Regions from separate parts of the Homo sapiens genome. Here regions 1 and 2 are each linked to region 3. Evidence: promoter capture Hi-C in 16 types of primary human blood cells and fetal thymus (Javierre and others, 2016). All regions are on one chromosome and are shown on one strand. The core of a region is centred on a gene start or on the middle of the fragment in contact, and the rest is flanking DNA. Distances in the headings are between cores, read along the strand shown. Region 1 has its middle 5.2 kb from the start of MSGN1. Region 2 overlaps SMC6 (structural maintenance of chromosomes 6). Region 3 holds the start of TTC32 (tetratricopeptide repeat domain 32).

What was found. Contacts are between HindIII fragments. The CHiCAGO score rates a contact against its expected background, and 5 or more counts as called.
Region 1: a contact is called between a fragment that was not itself captured here and the fragment with the promoter of TTC32 in region 3, in 4 of 17 cell types (M1 macrophages, M2 macrophages, total B cells and 1 more). The highest score is 9.3, in M1 macrophages.
Region 2: a contact is called between a fragment that was not itself captured here and the fragment with the promoter of TTC32 in region 3, in 1 of 17 cell types (neutrophils). The highest score is 6.3, in neutrophils.

The regions. Positions count from the first base shown.
Region 1 is chr2:17,809,519-17,813,013 of GRCh38, reverse strand. No RefSeq gene overlaps it. Among named protein-coding and RNA genes, the nearest start is that of MSGN1, 5.2 kb to the left of the region's middle. The HindIII fragment of the contact is 2,215 bases long and covers 1,012-3,226 here.
Region 2 is chr2:17,709,615-17,713,129 of GRCh38, reverse strand. The region is part of intron 16 of SMC6 (structural maintenance of chromosomes 6); the gene reads left to right. Among named protein-coding and RNA genes, the nearest start is that of SMC6, 42 kb to the left of the region's middle. The HindIII fragment of the contact is 8,646 bases long and covers 1-3,515 here.
Region 3 is chr2:19,900,016-19,903,718 of GRCh38, reverse strand. It overlaps TTC32 (tetratricopeptide repeat domain 32), which reads left to right and starts at 1,736. Exons shown (of 3, transcript NM_001008237.3): 1 at 1,736-2,013. The coding sequence starts at 1,865. RefSeq lists enhancers at 1,384-1,623, 1,013-1,893, 2,074-2,173, 2,254-2,313, 2,454-2,643 and 1 more. The HindIII fragment of the contact is 3,134 bases long and covers 611-3,703 here.

The sequences.
Region 1 (3,495 bases), core at 870-3,369, 2.1 Mb after region 3:
GCACCATCTAGGCTCACTGCAACCTCTGCCTCCTAGATTCAAGTGGTTCTCATGCCTCAGTCTCCCAAGTAGCTGGAACTACAGGTGTGTGCCACCATGCTCAGCTAACTTTTGTATTTTTAGTAGAGACAAGGTTTCACCACGTTGGCCAGGCTGGTCCTAAACTCATGGCCTCAAGTAATCCACCCGCCTCCACCTCCCAAAGTGCTGGGATTATAGTAAGCCATCGTGCCCAGCCTGCTCTGTCTTCTTTATCAAGAGCATTCATTACATGAGGAGGGTGTACCAAGGGATCATTAAACTCCCGTCTAGCTACAAAATGCCATGAAACATGTTACTACCATGTGAATATGCTTGGTTAAAAGAGCACTGTACCAGCATGAAGGCATTTGGGGATATCATTGAGTCCATCATTTCTTTAAATCTGCATTCTACACATGGTGAATGACTTGCTCAATGTCATACCCAAAGGCTGTGGCAGAGATGGAAAGAGAAAAGCCAAAGTTGCCTGCCTCCCATATCTGTCCTTTTTCTTCCTTTGAAACTAATAGGACTAATTGCAAAGTATTCACATCAGGCAGACTACGTATTTCCCACATTACTGATTTATTGGGATAAATATTTTACTTCAAATGTCATTCAAGCAACAGATATTTATAAGCTATTGTGACTATGACTGTGACAGATTGAAAAGAGGCCCCCAACCTTGAGGCCCACTCTCAAGAGACCTTGAAAAATGTTCAGGTCCTATTTTCCAAAGTATAAGACAAAGGTACAGGTTGTTTCATCTCTCAAATCCCAGGCCTTCATATTGACCTTTTTATTGTAGCTACACTCACTAAGGAGGATCCCAGATTTGCCATACATATTAATAAGTGGTCTGTGTCTAATTTTCAGAATGATGAGCTTCTGAGGGAATGCTGGTCATGTTCCTGACAACAGTCAGGACAACTGGGCATTTCACACTGGCCTCAGAGGATTGTAAACTCTACATTTAAGAGCCAGGAAGCTTTCTTGAGGCAGAGCCACTTCCAGGAAATTGGCAAATAGTGCTCAAAGGATAGACAGAAAACAGAAATCAAGAGGCTGATGGAATTCCTTAAGCTGTGGCCACCGGTGGTTCCATGCCATTACCAGCCCATACGGCTCCTTTGTGCAAATTACAAAACAACCAAGCTAAGGCTTATTTCAGCCCTGCTTGCCTCTTCAGCCCAGCACCTTTGTGCAGGGTGCACCCTCCTCAAGCAGTGGCCCTGGGAGCCCCTGTGATGTGCCTCCTCTGCAATGTTAGCATTTTTAGTACTTTGGTGGCTGTTTGAACATCGGTGAACAGATAGAACATGGGGGTAGTGGCAAGAGTGCAGGAATAGGAGCCAGGTCAAACCTGTCACATCTTACATTTCCTCCTCTGTTATTGTGACCTGGGACACATGAATCAATCTTTCTCAGCTTCAGCTTCATCTTCATCTGTGCAATTGAAATACTAATACTTGCCTTATAGAGTACACGCTTTTAGCAGGTTTACACATTGTAAACTGTAAGTGTGGTAACTAATGTTGCTGTAATTATTAATCTTGTGCTGGGGCAGGGTGCTGTAGCTCATGCTTGTAATCCCAGCACTTTGGGAGGCCAAGGTGGGTGGATCACGAGGTCAGGAGATCGAGAGCATCCTGGCCAACATGGTGAAACCCCGTCTCTACTAAAAATACAAAATTAGCTCGGTGTGGTGGCATGTGCCTGTAATCCCAGCTACTTGGGAGGCTGAGGCAGGAGAATCACTTGAACCTGGGAGGCGGAGATTGCAGTGAGCCGAGATCGTGCCACTGTACTCCAGCCTGGTGACAGAGCAAGACTCCATCTCAAAAAAACAAACAAACAAAAATCTTGTGCTGGGTACATTCTTGGTTCCTTGAGTCAAGAGAAGTTAGAGCCACAATACAAGTAGCCACAAATATATCACTCCCACTTTCTCTTGGCCTCAAGTCCCCCCTGCTTAGAAACCAAAATCCCTCCATTCAAATGTAATCTTTCTTTTTTAATGGAACCAGAGTAGTGGCGTACCCTGGATGGGTGGTGAGAACCTTCAGCCTCTGGTGTAGGCAATAAAGGGAGGTATTGTCTACATATAATTTTAAAACAGTGATAATGCTTGGCTAAAAGTTGGTCTTTATCTTATTATAACCATGTAGTGGCAATTCTAAACAATGACAATAATAAAATGACTCCTCTTTAGGGAAGCCCACTCCCACCAACACCCCCATCCTTGGTACACCACTGCCAAAGAGAACTTGGAATTCAGTCTAGAAATGTGGAACTGTCACTCAAGGCACCCAAATCCTCTACTTTACTATGGAAATTTGAGTGAGTCATTCAACCTTTGCGGACCTCAGTTTCCTTGTGTGAAAATTAGGAATCTTATATATTGTGTTGCTATGACATTTTTAAAAATTAAAAAATTGAGACTTGACTTTGGAAAGTATGAAAGAGTATAGGGATATGTTTTGATATTACCAAGATTAACAAAAATACTTTCACCAATGCAATTATCTGCTCCAAACCCAGCCATTTGCCATGATACATGACACCAGGTAAATCAGCATGGAAGGTGGTTCATGCTCCTTTAAAAGCCTGTCTCATGAGAAATAGGACCGTCTCAGACCTTTGAGAAGCATCAAGGTTGAGGGTCTATTTCTCTTGTGATCTCCTGGATCCCTGTTCTACATGAGGTAGTTTGTATGGGCCATTTGTTCGAGTCAGAGGGAGGACTCCAGTGAATTCCAACTCCTAATAATGCTTCAGAAAAGCCTTCCATAGATAAGAATTTGGTCAATAAACTAAGAAATCTAACCCTGGAGTCTAATTAAAATGAGGGTGAACCTTTATTGCATTCCTGCCATGTGCTGAGAACCAGACTTTTCTCTTTCAGGTTCATTAGTTAATCTTAATTTTCGCAGCAATTTTGAAAGATAGAGGTTCTAATCCACAACCTAAAGATGAAGAAATTTGTGTTCAGAAAGAGACCCAGCAGACACAGCAAGAGGATGGGAAAAGTAGAATGCGATCTAAGTCTGTGTGAATTCCAAATCCCCCCGTACTACATAATTATAATTTCAAATTCTACTCTACTACACTATTTCCCAAAAACAGCTTCATACATGTAATGTAATCACTGGGAATAGGTACAAGATGCAAGGCTTGGTTCCAATCTTGCCTCTTCCATGAAGCTTTCCCTGCCTGCCTCAGCCCTTGGAATTTCCCACTTTTCTGATCAGTAGCACTTAGATTTGGCACCATTCATTTGCCATTAATATTTACCACCTGATATTCTGGTTCTCTGTTCACATGGATATGACTTATTCCCATCAGCTACATTGAAACGTCTTTAAAGATATAGATGATGGCTTTTCTATCTCTTAGCATGGTGCCAGGAGCTCAGAAGATGACTAGTCCTTTGGTCTTTGGGCTTTTACTTGGCGCATGCTGGGTGCCAAATAC
Region 2 (3,515 bases), core at 241-2,740, 2.2 Mb after region 3:
CAGTTGAGTGTTTTGTTGACAAACTAGTTTAAAGAAAGAGAGGCCTACGAGAAAGTGTTTAGACCCACCTCAGTGAAGTTAGAGAATATGCTTAAATGCATGATAAGTCTGGAAGGATAGGAGGTTGTGGTAAGAGTGAGAAATTCAAGTTGAATGGAACAGGTCTAGGGGATGACAAAGTCCATGTTTTGGCTTCAGGAGCAGGTAGCTGAAACACAAGTTGTTGGAGTTGTGGAAGAAACTAGATTCTAATCCTTTTGGGTGTTGACAGGATATTGACAAGAGTCTTGAGTATGTCTAACATTCTGTTAACTTTACCTGCCTTGTAAACATTTTGAAGGGGTGATTTTTTTCTGTGTTTGAAGAAATTTTTCGGTATGAATTATGGTTCAAATGCTAAATTTAAAAACTGGCTATATTATTTTAATGTGGAAAATAATAGTAAAATATTATTAGGGTATTATAATGCATCAGATACATAGGACTCATTTCAGTCATTTAGGCTTACGCTAGATAACCTTAACAGAGGTACCTAGGAAGATGCCTAGCTCGTAAGGAGTATTCAGAAAATGTGCTTTCCTTTCCTGTAAAGATGGTCTTGTTTCTTCTTTTCAGAAGGACATAGAAGCTACTAAACTACTACTCCTGCTATTATGCCTGCATTTGTACATCTTGCCCCCATCTCAAGAGAGATTCTTTCTGTCTGAGGCTAGTCTACTTGTGCCTTGAATCACATACTTTCTTGCCTGACTCTATTAACCATTTAAAAAAATTATTTCAGCCCTCTCCTGAGCCTTAAACTTTCCTGTTAAATTTTCTCTCTGTTTTAAACATGATAGGTCTCTGATTTGCGTTTCTTTTAAAAATACACCTCTCCTAGGGGAGACTGCATTCACTCATAGACTTACCACTCTTGGTTCCTAAATGTTAATTGCATTCTCCAGTTATTTCCTTGTTGCCGAATCCGGTTGATATTTACCTTCTCTCAAGCATTAGATACTATTAAATACACCTTCCTTCAAACTTCATATTCCTTTTGTTACTATGACACCATTTTCTTGGTTCTCATACTCTTTAGGTGTTTCTCAGCCTATTTTATGGGCTTTTCTTCATCTCCTTCTGGTGCTCCGCACAGCTCTCTTCATAGTCTGTTATAACTTCTCACTTTATATCTTCTTATATTTGGAGAAATTAAAAATACACCAAATTTAGACCAGTCACGGTGGCTCACACCTGTAATCCCAGCACTTTGGGAGGCCGAATCGCGTGGATCATTTGATCCCAGGCATTTAAGACCAGCCTGGGTAATGTGGTGAAACGCCGTTTCTACCTAAGATACAAAAATAAACTGAGCATGGTGCTATGTGCCTGTGGTCCCAGCTACTCAGGAGCCTGAGGTGGGAGGATCACTGGAGCCCTGGAAGTCAAGGCTGCAGTGGGCTGTGATCGTGCCACTGCACTCCAGGTGACAGAGGGAGGTCCTGTCTCAAAAAAATAAAATAAAAATACACCAAATTTTAATCATGTTTTTTTCCTATATTTTAACTTAGTGGTGTTTTTCCTTTTACTTGACTTTAGAAATCACATCTTTTTATCAAATGATTTAAGTATAATTAGGATGAAAAAAAATCATTTTGTCCTGTAACTCCGCTTACCAGTGAGGCCTATTATACTTGACTAGATTTTCTGTGCACTTTTTCCTTTGTCAGTATGTTTTGTTTAGACTTTCTGCTTAACATTGTTTGTGAACCTGTGTCCTATTATCTTCTCCTTGTCCCCTGTCACCAACATCTCATTACTTATATTCCTTTCTACTTTTGGCTCTGCTAGACTAATATTGTATCCTCCCTCAACATACTATTAATTGTAATATAAGCCAGTATGAGGTAAATCCCAGGGACGAATAGCAAAAGGAAGAGGTAGTTGTGACTTGGCGCTTTAGAGGAAACTGGTAGTAACAGCTTCATGTAATGATGGCCTTTGGCTGCCCGAAAATGGTGACTCCTTCCTAGTGTCAAAACCTGTGCTCTCAACAGGCTAGCGAGAGTCTACATTTCACCAGAACTGCCTACCACGTCCTCCCCTCTTAGACTCCTACTCCCTTTCTTTATCTCCTTGTTCCGTACTTTGTTTCATTGACTGCCTGACGTTTCTAGAGCACCCATACCCTATTCTTTCTTATCCTTGTTTTTTTTCCACCTGAACTCTGTCCTAAAAAGCCATTTACCTGCTACTGTCACTTTTCTCTGCTTCCCTTTTCAGGAAAAACTCAAAGGAGTTGTCTGTTTCTCTAATTTCTTTCTACCTTCTTTCTTGAACCTTCTCCAGTTAGACTTTATAATTTCACCACATACCAAAACAGCTCTTATCAAGGCATCAGCAAGCCTCACTTCGCTTAACTCAATTGACTCAAAGTCATTACTCTTCACTAATTTTACTTACTGGCAGTATTTGCCCTTGATCCTTTCATTCTTCCTGAAACACTTTTTCACTTGGCCCAAGGACCTCACTCTTCTCATTTTCCTAATTCTCTAGGTGTTCGTTTTTGGTATCTTTTGCTTCTTCCTCCTCACAGCTGACTGTACCAGTGCTCCAGAACTCTTCTTGGTATGCACTTCTCCCTAGGTGAACTCATCTGATTGCATGGCTTTACAGATCATACATTGATGACTGAAACTGTGTTTGTAGGTTGCCTTTTTCTTCTGAACTCTATAATATAATATACTTAATATATATTTTTCACTTAGATGCCCAATAAGCATTTCAAACTTACCATGTCTGAAAGCCATACTCCCGATTTCCACCCCAAAACCTGCACTTTCAGTAATCTTCTCCATCTTCATTTCTCTATTGCAGAGTCATTCTTGACTCCTTTCTGCTACCCCACATCCTACTGGCTGTACTTCAGAAATATATCCAAGATCTGACCACTTGTGTGGTGACTCTACTGGCTCACGCCATCATCATGTTTCCCTTGAGAATTGCACAGGCTGATCTCCCTGCTTCTGGTTACTTGGCACCACAGTCTCAGTACAGCAGCCAACGTAAAGTCAGGTCATGTTGTGCCTCTGCTCAAAGGACTCTAAACTTTGCTGTTTTCCTTATCACAGGGCTGACTGTGACCTCTAGGCCTGGATGATCTGTCCTCTCACCATCTTTCTTATCCTGTCTCTGGAAACACTTCCCTCCCTGATCTGCCTACTGTGGCAATCTGTCTCCTTGCTTCTCTGACACACCTTTTAGGGTCTTTGCGATTGCTCTTCCCTCTGTCTGAAATGGTCTTCTAAGGTTACTTATGTGACTATATCATTTCCTCAGGTATCTGCCCAGTGTTACCTTAGTGAGGCTTTTTCTCGTCTTTTTTTGTGTGTGTAAAAAAGCACCATAAGCTGCCTTCCCTTCTTTTTCTTTATTCTCTGTCTTCCTTCAAAAAAATGTAAGCTCCATGAACAGGGTGTAGTCTGTTTTGTATACTGCTCCCTTTATCCTCTGGAACAGCACCTGGCACAGAGTAG
Region 3 (3,703 bases), core at 487-2,986:
TGGGAGGCTGAGGTGGGCAGATGTCTTGAACCCAGGAGTTGGAGATCAGCCTGGACAACATGGGGAAACCCATCACCACAAAAAATACAAAAATTAGCTCACTGCCAACCACTTCCACCCAGAAGGGATTCTTGTGCCTCAGCCTCATGAGTAGCTGGGATTACAGGCACCCGCCACCACGCCCAGCTAATTTTTTGCATTTTTAGTAGAGACGGGGTTTTGCCATGTTGGCCAGGCTGTTATCAAACTCCTGTCCTCAGGTGATCTGCCCGCCTAGGCCTCCCAAAGTGCTGGGATTACAGGCATGAGCCACAGAGCCTGGCCATCTCCACTTTTTCTTATCCCCCAAAAGGATTAACATCCCTGGCTTTATGTAGAATAGTGTACGCTGCCACATCAGTGTTTGAGTCATTCCCCAGAGGAGAGGGGAATCCCCCCTCCATTTTTTTTTTTGCAACATCTTGTCTTCCCTTTGCTGTTGCTTCCCCCAACACACTTGGTTTTGTTCTATCCTGTACTTCAGATTTGTTTTTTGTTTTGTTTTTTTCATATTGAAAAGATGACATTGCTCCAAGAGGCAAAAATAAATGGGAACTGAAAAAAAAAAGCTTTTTATCTTATTTATTTAATCTTTTAATTCACCTGGAATGAATATTATGTCAATTGGGAGCTTAAATGCTTAAATGTATTTTTCCCCAAATGGTTAACTAATCCTCCCAATAGCACTCATTTGAATAATCTGTCCTTTCCCCATATATGTTACATGTCTTTTACAAAATACAGCCTATTTGAGGTATGTTTCTGGGCTTTTGTTCTATTGAGCTGTCCATTTGCTTACACCAGAAATGCCAGTTTATTTTTTTGTAGTCTTGCAATCTTTTAATTTCTACTAGTGCTTTTTAATTTAACCTTAATCCACTGTATTTGTATTTTTTTCAGTGGTGGTAAAAGGAAAAAATTAAAAATCTAATGAAAGCAGCCAAAAGCACACAATTTATGTCCTGTTAAGACTTCCGCATGTAAGTATCATGCTCCAAATATATTTTTCATCTTTACTTTTTATGACGGAAAGGGCTCAAGTACTTTGGGAAGCAAAACAGAATCGAGGGACGCCGAGAAGATACACAGCAGGCATGTAGGGTAGCGTGGTTGGCAACTGTTCTTACAAAATTTTAATTTGAATTATACGTAATGTACGTAATAAATTACTATTTGGATTTCCCTTTGGCATAAACAGCCAGGGAATATAACTAACATCAAAGATCCCAGACTCTCGACACAATATACTACTAATCGTAACACAATTCTAGAGGGTCAAAAAAGGTAGAGAAGTTTGGACCGTGGAACAGACCTGGTGGAATGTCGACACAAAGCGTTTCAGGGTAGACAAAGCCTACTCAGAACACCCTAAACGCGGAGTTTTGCTAAGTTGGGACGCTAAAAGGCAAGGGAATGACAGGACGTCCGCAGGCTAATTCGCCATTAAGAAACAGAACCGCGGCTTCTTCCACCTCCAGCGTCATCGGCCCCCAATTCGCTGTAACAAACGGATAGTGTCTCGCAGCATCAGACAACGGACTTGGAAATCAGTTTGCGACCACGCATCTGCGCCTTTTCTAGGAAAAGAGGAAGGCGGGTCCAACACTGGTAACGGCAGAAACATAGTTCACAAGGGCCACTGCAAACGCCCCGCCAGCAGCGGAACCGTTATCTCGCGAGACGACGGATCCCCATAAGGCACAAACCTAGCGCCAAGGTTGGCTGTCAAGGTAGATTCCAGGGTGTGGAAGTGGCTTTGTGGTGCCACCTCTAACCGCTCGGAGGTCAACCCCCATTCTACACCGAAAACTAGGCCTTGGCTGCTATGGAAGGACAGCGGCAAGAAAGCCACGCAACCCTAACACTCGCCCAGGCTCATTTCAACAATGGAGAGTACGCGGAGGCCGAGGCACTGTACTCCGCTTACATTCGCCGGTGCGCTTGCGCGGCCTCCAGCGACGAGAGTCCCGGGAGGTAACTATCGCGAGACCTGGGGCCGCGGCGACCCCGGGTGGAGGCGACGTTGGGGTTGTTTGGGCTCCTATCTTTGCCTCTGGAGCTCACGGTCGGCGCTTGTCATAACCCAGCACTAGGACTGAGCGGGCGGACGTTCGTCTTTCTAGAAAGGCCTAGGCGAGGCCTAGGACGAGGGCGGCGGAGAACGCGGGGAGAAGCCCACCCGTGAGGAGCCAGCTGCCGCGACGGTGCGGAGAGATTTCCGGGAACCAAGCCCTCTGCGCGATCCTCGGGCGCGGGCCGCCGCCTCTCACCCCGCCGTCTCTCCTTCCACGTTCCTCATTCGCACCCAGAGACTTAGGACAGATAGGAATTTTCCACTCGTGATTTTAGCTGGCGGGAAATCCGCGACCTGGGAAGGGAAGGGGTCACGGCTGCGTAGGGCCACAGTACCGCGACTCCCATCTCAGTGTCACGGCGCAGGCTCTTGGTGGTGTTTTTCACTTGTGAAAAACGTTTAAATATGTGGAAGAGAGCATAACGAACGTCTAGGTGTTTATCACTTGGCTTAAGCATTATCAGTTTACCTATTGTATTCATCCATGGATGTTTCAGAAGGAACCACCATGTCATCATCACATAGTTACTTAATATCAAGTCGTCAGTGTTGGAACCATTCTGATCGACTAATAAGGTGTTTTGTTCTTTGGTTCCCTTTTCGCAGTTAGTTCAAGTCAGGATACACATCAAGTCTTTTTAAGTCTCTTCTCCACCTTCCCCTCTTTATTTGTTGAGGAAACCGATTCTTGTGTCCTTTGAATTTCCGTGTTTTGGACTTGCTGACTGAATCTCTTCTGTCGTTTAATGTGGTCATCTGTCTCATATTGCTGTGAATTGGTGGTTAAACCTTGAGGTTTGATCCAATTGAATTCAGATTCAATATCATGGCAAGAATACTTTTTAGGTGGGTGTGTGTACTTTCACCAGGAAGCACATAACGATTCGCTGACTTTCTCTTTGTGATGTGAGCGGCTTCACCTGTTACTGTCTGCTTGCCCAAAGCATCTTTTCGGCTTGTGCCTGGATGTGTAGCATTTGTTTTTACTCCAAGTCTTGCCTCGACTGGGCTTGTTGATGGTATGGAGTGGATCAGGATGAGAAAAGAACAGAGGGGTTGGTTGAACAGCTTTTTGAATAGTTGTGAGTTGTCTGTTGTGGATTTGAGTTTTCTGGACAGGATGCCAGCTTGTCTTTTGTATGAGGCTTAACTAAACACTAAGGACTTGATTCTTACCCTGTTTGTTACGCTACATGGAATTAAACCAGAAAGAAAATTGCCTTCTCATTTCAATAACACACAAGAATAATAATAGAAGTTTCTGAACAGGCAATAAGATGATACCATCTACTTTCCTCAGTGCACCTCCCCCATAAAAAAGATAAGTAAACATAGAAAGCGAAACTATTCATGTTTCAAGCTCTAAGAGTAGACTTACCTAGTAGATTTTAAAAAGTATTTATCAGCATCAGGTATGCTGTTGCTGTCTAGTCTTGTTATTCTTCCTTCTTTGCACCTCTCAGCCTAAGAACACAAGTGTCTGTAGCATATATAATAGCTATGCCTTACCAGCACAGGAAAGACAGTTTGTCATAGCGCAGTAGAAGGGAGTTCATCATGCCTGAATTCCAGTCTTGGCACTGCCACATG